Regions from separate parts of the Homo sapiens genome. Here region 1 is linked to region 2. The links are contacts of gene promoters, found by promoter capture Hi-C in blood cells and fetal thymus (Javierre and others, 2016). All regions are on one chromosome and are shown on one strand. Each heading gives the region's core, a stretch centred on a gene start or on the middle of the fragment in contact. The rest is flanking DNA. Distances are from core to core; before and after follow the strand shown.

Region 1 (4,793 bases), core at 1,343-3,842, 860 kb before region 2:
TCGGGAGGTGGAGGTTGCAGTGAGCCGAGATTGCACCACTGCACTCCAGCATAGGTGACAGAGTGAGACTCCGTCTCAAAAAAAAAAAAAAAAAGAAAAGAAAATCAGTTCTGCCTCACCCACCTTCAGAACATTTGCCTTCTCTGAGACTAGTTTCTCCATCTGTAAGGTGAGGGGTGATAGATCAGATGAACCCTAAGATCCCTTCTGGCTTAACCGTTTTTCAGTTGGGTTGCCTATGACTAACAGCTAGCCTAAGGCAAAGTTTTATGCCAAGCCCAGAGTGATCCTGCATAAACAGAAATCTGACCATGATATTGACCTGTCTAAATATTCAGTGGCTTCCCGCTGATCTTAGAACATTGTCTGAAGTCCCCATGCACAGGCCCTATTATCTACTTCTCCAACCGCCAAGAGGCTCACTCTAGCTCCCGCCCCTTCCAGCTCCCTTCCACCCCCACCTCCTTTCATTCTTTACGGCCATTTATCTAATCGCGGCCTAAGCACAGGGGTTTTGCACACGGTTTCCTTCTACCCGGACCTTTCTCCATATGCCCTCCTCCTCCCTTCCAGCTTCCTTCTCCTGGCTAACTCTTACTTGTCCTTCAAGTCAGGGGTGCTCCCACAGGACCCAGTACTTCTTGGATCTCAGCTCCTGTCACACAGTATTGTGACCGCTGAGCTGACTGCTTGTCAGTCTCTCCACTAGATTGGAAGCCCATGTGTCTTACTCATCCGTCACTCTTCTGTCCGCCCACTCACACAGGAGGCGTCAATAAAAGACACATTGGATATAAACACGTGGGCAAAAGAACTACTACCTAGAAGGAAAGACTCTGGACAGGAAGGCCAGAAACCCGTTTTAGTCCAGGCTTGGGACATGAAATGTGCAGGTCTAGGTATGTGACCAGCCGCTTCTGGTCTCAGTTTCTGGATTGTTAAATGATGAGAGAGAGGGAGAGAGGGAAGGGGGAGAGAAAGGAGGAGGGGCAGGGGAGAGATAAGTCCGACTGTGTGTTTGTATGGGCCTGCGCTTGAGTTATCAGCTCCCTTTCCTCCAGTGTGCTTTCCTAGGGGCCACTAGAGGTCACTCTTGTCCTACACAATGGTGCCAGGACAGTCTGACTTCGGGGTGGCACCCAGGAAGCCGGAATGCGTCCGCCTGCCTCCAAATCCCGCACTCCAGTCTCAGGAAGGCCGGGAGATGTGCCCTGCGCTTGGCCTCCCGGAGGAACAAATCACAGAATCAATCAAATCCCAACCAGAACTTCGTTGCGGTCCCGTTGGCAAGGGTCCCACCTGGAATGTGGCCTAATATTAAGGAAACGTGCGAAACGGGACTGCAATTCCTGCAGGGGTGCCGGCTTCCCGGCCAGCGTGCAGAGAACGGGGGGTCCCAGGGCAGGTGCGGGGTCTGCGGCGCCCGCCACGACTCGGCGCTGGGCTCTCCCGGGCTCCGGGTCCCCGGCTGCCCCCGGCCGCCAGTCGGGTCGGCCCCGCACCTGTTTGTGCTTTGCAGGCTCCCGGCCCCCTCGCTGAGCGAGGAAGCTGGTATGTGCAGCTGCCCTGCCCTTCTCCAGGTCAGGGGCAGGTTAGAGTCCCGAGGAGGCCCAGTCAGGTTTGAGGACAGAGGGGCTTTGCTTCCCTTTCCTGCTCGGTGGGGAGACGGTGCATCTGGGGCAGCTTGAACAGGAAGTTCGTCTGAAATTGCCTTGAGTGATGGCTACCACGCTGAGGAAGGCTGCTCAGAAGTGGCCCCTGCAGGTGGTGTCGCCTGGTACCCCATGTCCGGCTGGAGGAAAGGCTCTAAGACCGTCATGACCCTCTCTGGGGTGCTCCCACTCCTCAGGAGTCACGGGGGCAATTACTTCAAGTGTGTCCTGAACTTTTCTTCTATGTGCTTTTTGCTCTACCTGGAATCCGGTGGAATCTCTCAAAAGCCTGTTCTTCCCTCCAGGCCCTGTCAGAGGTAGCCTCCTGCTTGGGACCTCACCTGATAACAAGCTGGGAGAGCGGCACATTATCTGCATCTCCCTTTTAGCGTCCCTCTCAGGCTTATTTTATCTGTGTGCTTGGGTCATTTTGTCTGCTACTGACTTTTCATTTCTCAATTTTCAATAGTATGCGGCTCAGTGCCTTTTTGTCCATGATAGCTGTTTAGTTAATACTTGTTGAGTTCTGCTCAATCAACTGCTCTAGGAGTCATGCCTGGCTGTATGTTCCAATCTCTTCCTCTACTGTTGTTAACAGAGAGGACTGTAAGGGATAGAGAGAGAAAATGGGGAAAATAGTATCCTGTTCCCTTGCCCTTCCAACAGCCCATACCCTATTTGGAGTTCCTTGTCCCTAAGACATTTTGAGGCTGAGAAGTTTATTTGCCCTCCATCCTACCCTCTGAGGGACACGCTGAAATGGTGAGCAGTTTTGATCTAGCTTCTGTATCACTGACCAGAGAAAATACCAGGACCCTTTATACAAGGAGAGCTGGGGGTTTTGTAGGCAAGTTGTTAGGGATATAGGCTTTTCCTGGATGTAGTGTGGTTTGGGGGTCAGGATTTGATCTGTATTCTATCCAAGTCTGTGTAATAGTGATCCAATCCATAATGGACTCTACCATGTGCTTCTAATGGCTTAAAATAATTTAGCACACTTGGCAGACAAGATGAGAGCCTGACTAAGGAACCTGGATTTATACTGATATTGTTAACTCCCAGCAGATGAGGGAATCATCTGGGGGAAGTTTGGAAAGAAAATCTGATCCTGCAGCCATCTCAAAGCTCCATGTCATAGGCATATCACACTCAAACCACAGGACACAATAGGAACCAGCTATAAAAACCATGGAGACTTCAGCATGTGGTTAACTATGTCCCCCTACCACTGTAAAGAATTGGTGCCATCATCATCAACATTTACAAGTAGTGTTTAAGGGGCATTATTCATAGTTCCATCGTTCTTTTCATTGTACCAATTAAATTACAATAGACTTACTCCTTGTCTTCTAAGAAAACACTGAAATATGCAAATGTCTGAGCAGACACACCATATAAAGATATTACACAAAGAGCAGGAAGGGAGGAAAATCAGACTTAGCCTGGATTTCAAGGCCTTCTGCAGTCTGGGCTTATTATGTGTTTGTGGCCTTTCCCTTTGCCCCACAAAGCATCCTGTATTCCAGTCACATGAGATGATTTGCCACCTCCCAAACAAAATGAGCCTTGAACTTCTGTACTTCCAAACCCTTAGTGATCTCATCCTGTTGCTGGAAGTTGCCTTTCCTACAGCCTTTCCTAGAAGTATGGCACATCCTTCCAGCTCCAGCTCCACGGCCTTCAGCCCTGAGACTTTTCAGATTCCCAAGTCAGAATTCATCTCTCTCTTTCTCATAATCCCATCTCCTATATTTACCCTTAGGTGGTCTGTTTTGTCTCTGAGTTACGGTAGCCTCTGTGGAGAGGGACCAGGTTTCCCCAGTCCTAATTGTGTGGAGCTGGAGGAGAGAATGTGGGGCTACAAAGCATCCCCTTTACAGCAGTCTACAGGTGGAGTGAAGACAGGTAGGAAGGCAGGTGTGTGTGTGTGTGTGTGTGTGTATGCACACATGTTAACACACGTTTTAAACATAACATGTTTAGTTATGTTTAACACACATGTTAAGGTGATAAATACCTGTTTTATTAACTTTTGACAAAGTATTCCCCATGACATCAGGTGTACTGGTATAATCTCAAAAGGGAAAAAAGATGTCTCAGGTGGTACAGGCTCTGTTCCAGATCCCACAGATATCCAAGTGCAAAGTGTGGGGTGACTCTGAATCATTGTTGCAAGGGTAAGCAGGGAAGGCTAGTCTGCACGGGTATTGCTGGTGTTTGGCAGTGGGTCCACAGTTTAATGCTCCAGGCCCCTTGTCTGGAATGAGCCCACATCCTGCCCTGGGCTTCCTGATGCTTAGCAGCCAAAGAAACACCAATTCAGGGCCCAGGCCCCACTATAGGGATAAGCTGGATTAGAACTTTCAGTTCCTTAAGGCTTACATTTCTTCATCACAGCCTCTGGAAGGTGCAGGGGAAGAAGAAGACGAGGGCCATTTCTTCTCAGTCAGCCAGAACTGCCCACATATTCTGCTGCTCTCTCACTTTAGAATCAACTGTTTAGAAATATGTTAGCTCTACCCTAACTTGCCCATTTACAGGTGTTTCGTCTAGGTCATCTGGGACAGAATGGAAATCCCTGCCTACAACGAGGGTCCCTAAGTGAGTGGAGGTGAAGAGGGGATACCACAGCCTTAATGGACAGCTACGCAGAGAGTTTCCAGCTGCTGGGAGTGAACTGGAGGAAAATATATTCTGGATCTGAGAACAAACAAAAAACTCTCGGAAAATAACAGTGAAAAGCCTAGATTCCTAAACATCTTGGTTTAAAATGTCAAGTCGCTGTAAAACATAAAAGCATTTCATAATCCTCTAATCGGCACAGTGATCTCCACATTAGTAATCTGGGAGTTAAAACAAAACAAACAATAAAACCTTTGAGAAGCCAGCACTCATCCTTCCACTCAGTCACAGAGAACTCCCAGGGGCTCATGGCATGTTCACACCTTTGGCAAAATGGCATAGCGCCTGAATGAAGAATCTAATCTGGGAAAAATCGAAGATACAAATCATCTGGGATCTTGTTCTAGAAGTTTATAGTGGGACAGTGGTTCTCAACCTTGACCACATATTTGAATCACCTGGGGAGCTTTAACAAATACTGGTGCCTTGGTCCCAACCCAAAGATTTTGGTTTAATTGG
Region 2 (5,019 bases), core at 1,140-3,639:
TTAATTATTTTTAGAGACAAGGTTTCATGCTGTTGCCCAGGCTGGAGTGCAGTGATGCGATTATAGCTCACTGCAGCTTCGAATTCCTGGGCTCAAGTGATCCTCTTGCTGCAGCCTCCCAAGTAGATGAAACTACAGGCATGTGTCGCCATGCCTGGCTAATTTTTTTTAATTTTTAATTTTTTAGAGACAGGGCCTCCCTACATTGTTCCGGCTGGTCTCTAACTCCTGGCCTCAAGAGATCCTCCCACTTCAGCCTACCAAGTAGTTAGGATTACTATATTTTAAAATGTAATACAGACTTATGATAAATTTACCCAAGAGAAATAAAAATTTATGTTCTCACAAAAACCATCACACAAATGTTCATAGCCACTTTATTAATAATTGCTAAAAACTGGAAATAACTTAAATATCCTTTATTGAATGGATAAACAAACAGTGACACATCCATATAATGGAATGCTACTCAGCCATACAAAAGGATGAACTACTGAAAATCACAACAACATAGATGAATCGTAAATGCATTATGCTAACTTAGTAAAGGAAGGGAGAACCCAAAAGGCTACAGACTGTATTCTCCATTTATATGATAATCCGGAAAAGAAAACTATAGGGGAGAACAGATCAGTAGTTCCCAGAGGATAAGACGAAGGGAGGGGTTGACTACATACAATAGGACGGTAAGAGAATTTGGGGGGTGGTGGTGATGGAATTACTTTTTATTGTGATGTTTACATGTATATGCATTTGTCAACATTCATAGAACAGTACACCAAAAAGTGAATTTTACTATATAAAGTTTAAAAATAAATGCATAAAAATAATATAGTCGAGTAAATTCAAACAATATAAGGAATTTAATAAGAAAGTCTCCCTCCCAGATCTTGGTGATAATAGATCTGTATTTTGAGTGCAGTGATGGTCACATACATCCATACATGTGATAAAATGATAGAGAACTATATACACACATTACACCAATATCAACTTCCTGCTTTTGATATTGTACTATAATTAAGATGTAACCCGCCAGGCACGGTGGCTCATGCCTGTAATCCCAGCACTTTGCGAGGCCGAGGCAGGCGGATCACCTGAGGTCAGGAGTTCGAGACCAGCCTGGCCAACGTGGTGAAACCCCGTCTCTACCAAAAAAAAAAAAAAAAAAAATTAGCCGGGCGTGATGGCGGGCGCCTGTAATCCCAGCTACTCAGGAGGCTGAGGTAGGAGAATCGCTTGAACCTGGAAAGCGGAGGTTGCAGTCAGCCGAGATCGCGCCATTGCACGTCAGCCTGGGTGACAAGAGCGAAACTCCGTCTCAAAATAAATAAATTAATTAAAAGATGTAAACGGCGGGTCGCGGTGGCTCACGCCTGTAATCCCAGCACCCTGGGAGGCCGAGGCAGATGGATCATTTGAAGTCAGGGATTCGAGACCAGCTTGGCCAACATGGTGAGACCCCATCTCTACTAAAAATATAAAAATTAGCTGGGCGCGGTGGCGCACGCCTGTAATCCCAGCTACTCAGGAGGCTGAGGTAGGAGAATCGCTTGAACCCGGGAGGTGGAGGTTGCAGTGAGCCAAAATTGTGCCACTGCACTCCACCCTGGGCGACAGAGCAAGACTCCATCTCAAAATAAATAAATAAATAAATAAATCTCATATAAGTGTGTGTGTGTGTACAAATTTATACATAAATACTTTTAACACAAATGGTAGCATATTATACTTGCTGTTCTGCACCTTACTTTGTTTCTACAATTACTTTGGAGATTTTTTTCCGTATCACATATACAACAGATCCACCGCATTATTTTTTATTGCCGCATAGTATTCCATTGCACAGTGGTTTCACTTATTTCAACAGTTTCTTATTGATGGACATTCGGATCTTAACTAAGAATTGAACTTAAATAATCCAGAAATGTTTACAATAATGAAAGGTCGGCTGGAGTTGAGGCTAAAAGTTTTCACATATTCAAGACTTGACTCCAGAATATTCTTTTGACCAGAAGGGGGAATGCAAGTGGCAGGAGAAGCGAAAAGCTGGGAAATTTCCCGGGCCAATGGGGAAGCAGTGGAGCCGGCAGGGAATTACTGCCGGGTAGGAGTTCGCAGAGGAGCACCTTACTTTTGGAGTAGGAGGCCATGCTGCAAACCCAGACTTTTCAGGCTGCATCTCAGATATACCGAAGTGTGTACCCGCTACGCACAGTGCGGTGATGCCTGGCCACCTCCAGCCTCCAGCGGGGACCTCCTGCCCAGGTGGAGTCTGAATGCCCACCGCCACCAGCCCACGCGCGCAGTGGGCGTACACGTGGTGACCTGCCTGCGGCTGGGTTCCCAGCTCCGGCTCCTCCTCCCTCCAGCTCTCGCTCGGCTTCCTGCAGTATCACGTGCAGCTGCGCTGGGTGCAGGATGGCGGCGGCCGCGGCGGCGGCAGCAGCGGTGGGTGTCAGGCTCCGGGACTGCTGCAGCCGAGGCGCTGTGCTCCTGCTCTTCTTTTCCCTGTCTCCTCGGCCCCCGGCCGCCGCCGCCTGGCTGCTGGGCCTGCGGCCCGAGGACACTGCTGGAGGCCGCGTGTCCCTGGAGGGGGGCACCCTGCGCGCCGCCGAAGGCACCAGCTTCCTCCTGCGTGTCTATTTCCAGCCAGGACCGCCGGCCACCGCCGCACCGGTGCCCTCACCGACCCTCAACTCGGGGGAGAATGGCACCGGCGACTGGGCTCCGCGGCTCGTGTTCATCGAGGAGCCCCCGGGCGGTGGCGGCGTGGCCCCCAGCGCGGTCCCCACTCGCCCCCCGGGACCGCAGCGCTGCAGGGAGCAGAGCGACTGGGCATCGGACGTGGAAGTCCTGGGGCCCTTGCGTCCCGGGGGCGTGGCAGGCTCGGCCCTGGTCCAGGTGCGAGTGCGGGAGCTGCGCAAGGGCGAAGCGGAGCGGGGCGGCGCGGGCGGTGGCGGGAAGCTCTTTTCACTCTGCGCCTGGGATGGGCGCGCGTGGCACCACCACGGCGCCGCCGGCGGCTTCCTGCTGCGCGTTCGCCCGCGGTTGTACGGCCCAGGCGGGGACCTGCTGCCCCCTGCGTGGCTGCGGGCGCTCGGGGCGCTCCTGCTGCTAGCCTTGTCGGCCCTGTTCAGCGGCCTGCGCCTGAGCCTGCTGTCGCTGGACCCGGTGGAGTTACGGGTGCTGCGGAACAGCGGCTCGGCCGCCGAGCAGGAGCAGGCGCGCCGCGTGCAGGCCGTTCGCGGCAGGGGGACCCATCTGCTCTGCACCCTACTCCTGGGCCAAGCCGGAGCCAACGCGGCCCTGGCTGGCTGGCTGTACACCTCGCTGCCGCCGGGCTTCGGGGGCACCGGGGAAGACTACAGCGAAGAGGGGATCCACTTCCCGTGGCTGCCGGCGCTCGTGTGCACCGGCGCGGTATTCCTGGGCGCCGAAATCTGCCCCTACTCAGTGTGTTCGCGGCACGGGCTGGCCATCGCCTCGCACAGCGTGTGCCTGACCCGGCTTCTGATGGCAGCCGCCTTCCCCGTGTGCTACCCGCTGGGCCGCCTGCTGGACTGGGCGCTGCGCCAGGAGATAAGCACCTTCTACACGCGGGAGAAGTTGCTGGAGACGTTGCGGGCCGCAGACCCCTACAGTGACCTGGTGAAGGAGGAGCTCAACATCATACAGGGTGCCCTGGAGCTGCGCACCAAAGTTGTGGAGGAGGTGCTGACCCCCCTGGGAGACTGCTTCATGCTGCGCTCAGACGCGGTGCTCGACTTCGCCACTGTCTCCGAGATCCTGCGCAGCGGCTACACTCGCATCCCAGTGTACGAGGGTGACCAGCGGCACAACATTGTGGACATTTTATTTGTCAAGGACTTGGCCTTCGTGGACCCCGACGACTGCACCCCGCTCCTCACTGTCACCCGCTTCTACAACCGGCCCCTGCATTGTGTTTTCAATGACACCCGACTGGACACGGTTCTGGAGGAGTTTAAGAAGGGTGAGCAGTAGTCTATCTTCTCCCCCAACTCCTATCCCCTTCAAAGGTATTATCCTTTCCTAACCACGTGAGGCTCTAGGTACCCAAAGCAATTTCTCTCCTATGGTACTAAAAACCCAAGGAAGACTCTACCTCTTGGCTCCCTGGCTATTTTCATCTCACTTCTGCCTCACTTCTTGCTCCTGATTGAGCCCCAGGCCTCTTTCCTCTCTACTTGATTCACAAGATGCACCATATTCCTTATTTGTTCCATTCTACCAGGTTTTTCCAAGGCCTACCAAATGTCAGATACTGTGTAGGTGGGAGATAGCCCTTGAAGGTCATTGCATAGCTCCCCACCTATTACAGGAGACACCTCTGCAGGTTCCCATACAAGCAGCCTTTGCTTTAAACTCCTCCCAGGGCCGAAAGCTCACTATTTACAGAGCAAACTAATTCCATTGCTGGACAGCTCCAGTGGCTGACAATGTTTCCTCATATAGAGCAGAATTTGTGTCTCCAAATCCTTCTACCTCTTCTGCCTTTTGAATCATGTAGACTAAACCCAGACACCTTAGACGTTCTTCCCCATACTTAATTTCCCATCAGGTATTGATTGCACACATATCAAGTACTCAGGTCCAGGGCCGGGCGCGGCGGCTCATGCTTCTAATCCCAGCACTTTGGGAAGCTGAGGCGGGAGGATTACTCGAGCCCAGGAGTTCAAAGCTGCAATGAGCTGTAATCCCACCACTGTACAAAAGAGCAAGACCCTGTCTTTGCCCGGGGGGGAGGGAAGTACTCAGGTTGGGGGTTAAAAGTTGACTAAGGCAGTAGGATCCTTGTAAGTCTGGGAACTGTGGTCCTGTGAAATAGGATAGATCTGGACCTGAAGAAATATTCTGGGTAGAGGAGATCCTAGAAAACTTGCATACCCAAATGAGTGGGGTTTCCTTCAGCGCAGTCACCATCTTCCAACTCTCCTCCCCAAACTCAAGCTTGATGTCATGCTTATAACATGTTTACTTCATGTCTGAGTTTGTCTT

The links. Contacts are between HindIII fragments. The CHiCAGO score rates a contact against its expected background, and 5 or more counts as called.
Region 1: a contact is called between a fragment that was not itself captured here and the fragment with the promoter of CNNM1 in region 2, in 1 of 17 cell types (total CD4 T cells). The highest score is 5.2, in total CD4 T cells.

Annotation. Positions count from the first base shown.
Region 1 is chr10:98,466,534-98,471,326 of GRCh38, forward strand. The region is part of intron 11 of HPSE2 (heparanase 2 (inactive)); the gene reads right to left. Among named protein-coding and RNA genes, the nearest start is that of HPS1, 22 kb to the left of the region's middle. RefSeq lists silencers at 1,314-1,363, 1,414-1,513. The HindIII fragment of the contact is 5,922 bases long and covers 1-4,793 here.
Region 2 is chr10:99,326,967-99,331,985 of GRCh38, forward strand. CNNM1 (cyclin and CBS domain divalent metal cation transport mediator 1) reads left to right here and starts at 2,390. Exons shown (of 11, transcript NM_020348.3): 1 at 2,390-3,994. The coding sequence starts at 2,422. The HindIII fragment of the contact is 5,728 bases long and covers 1-4,969 here.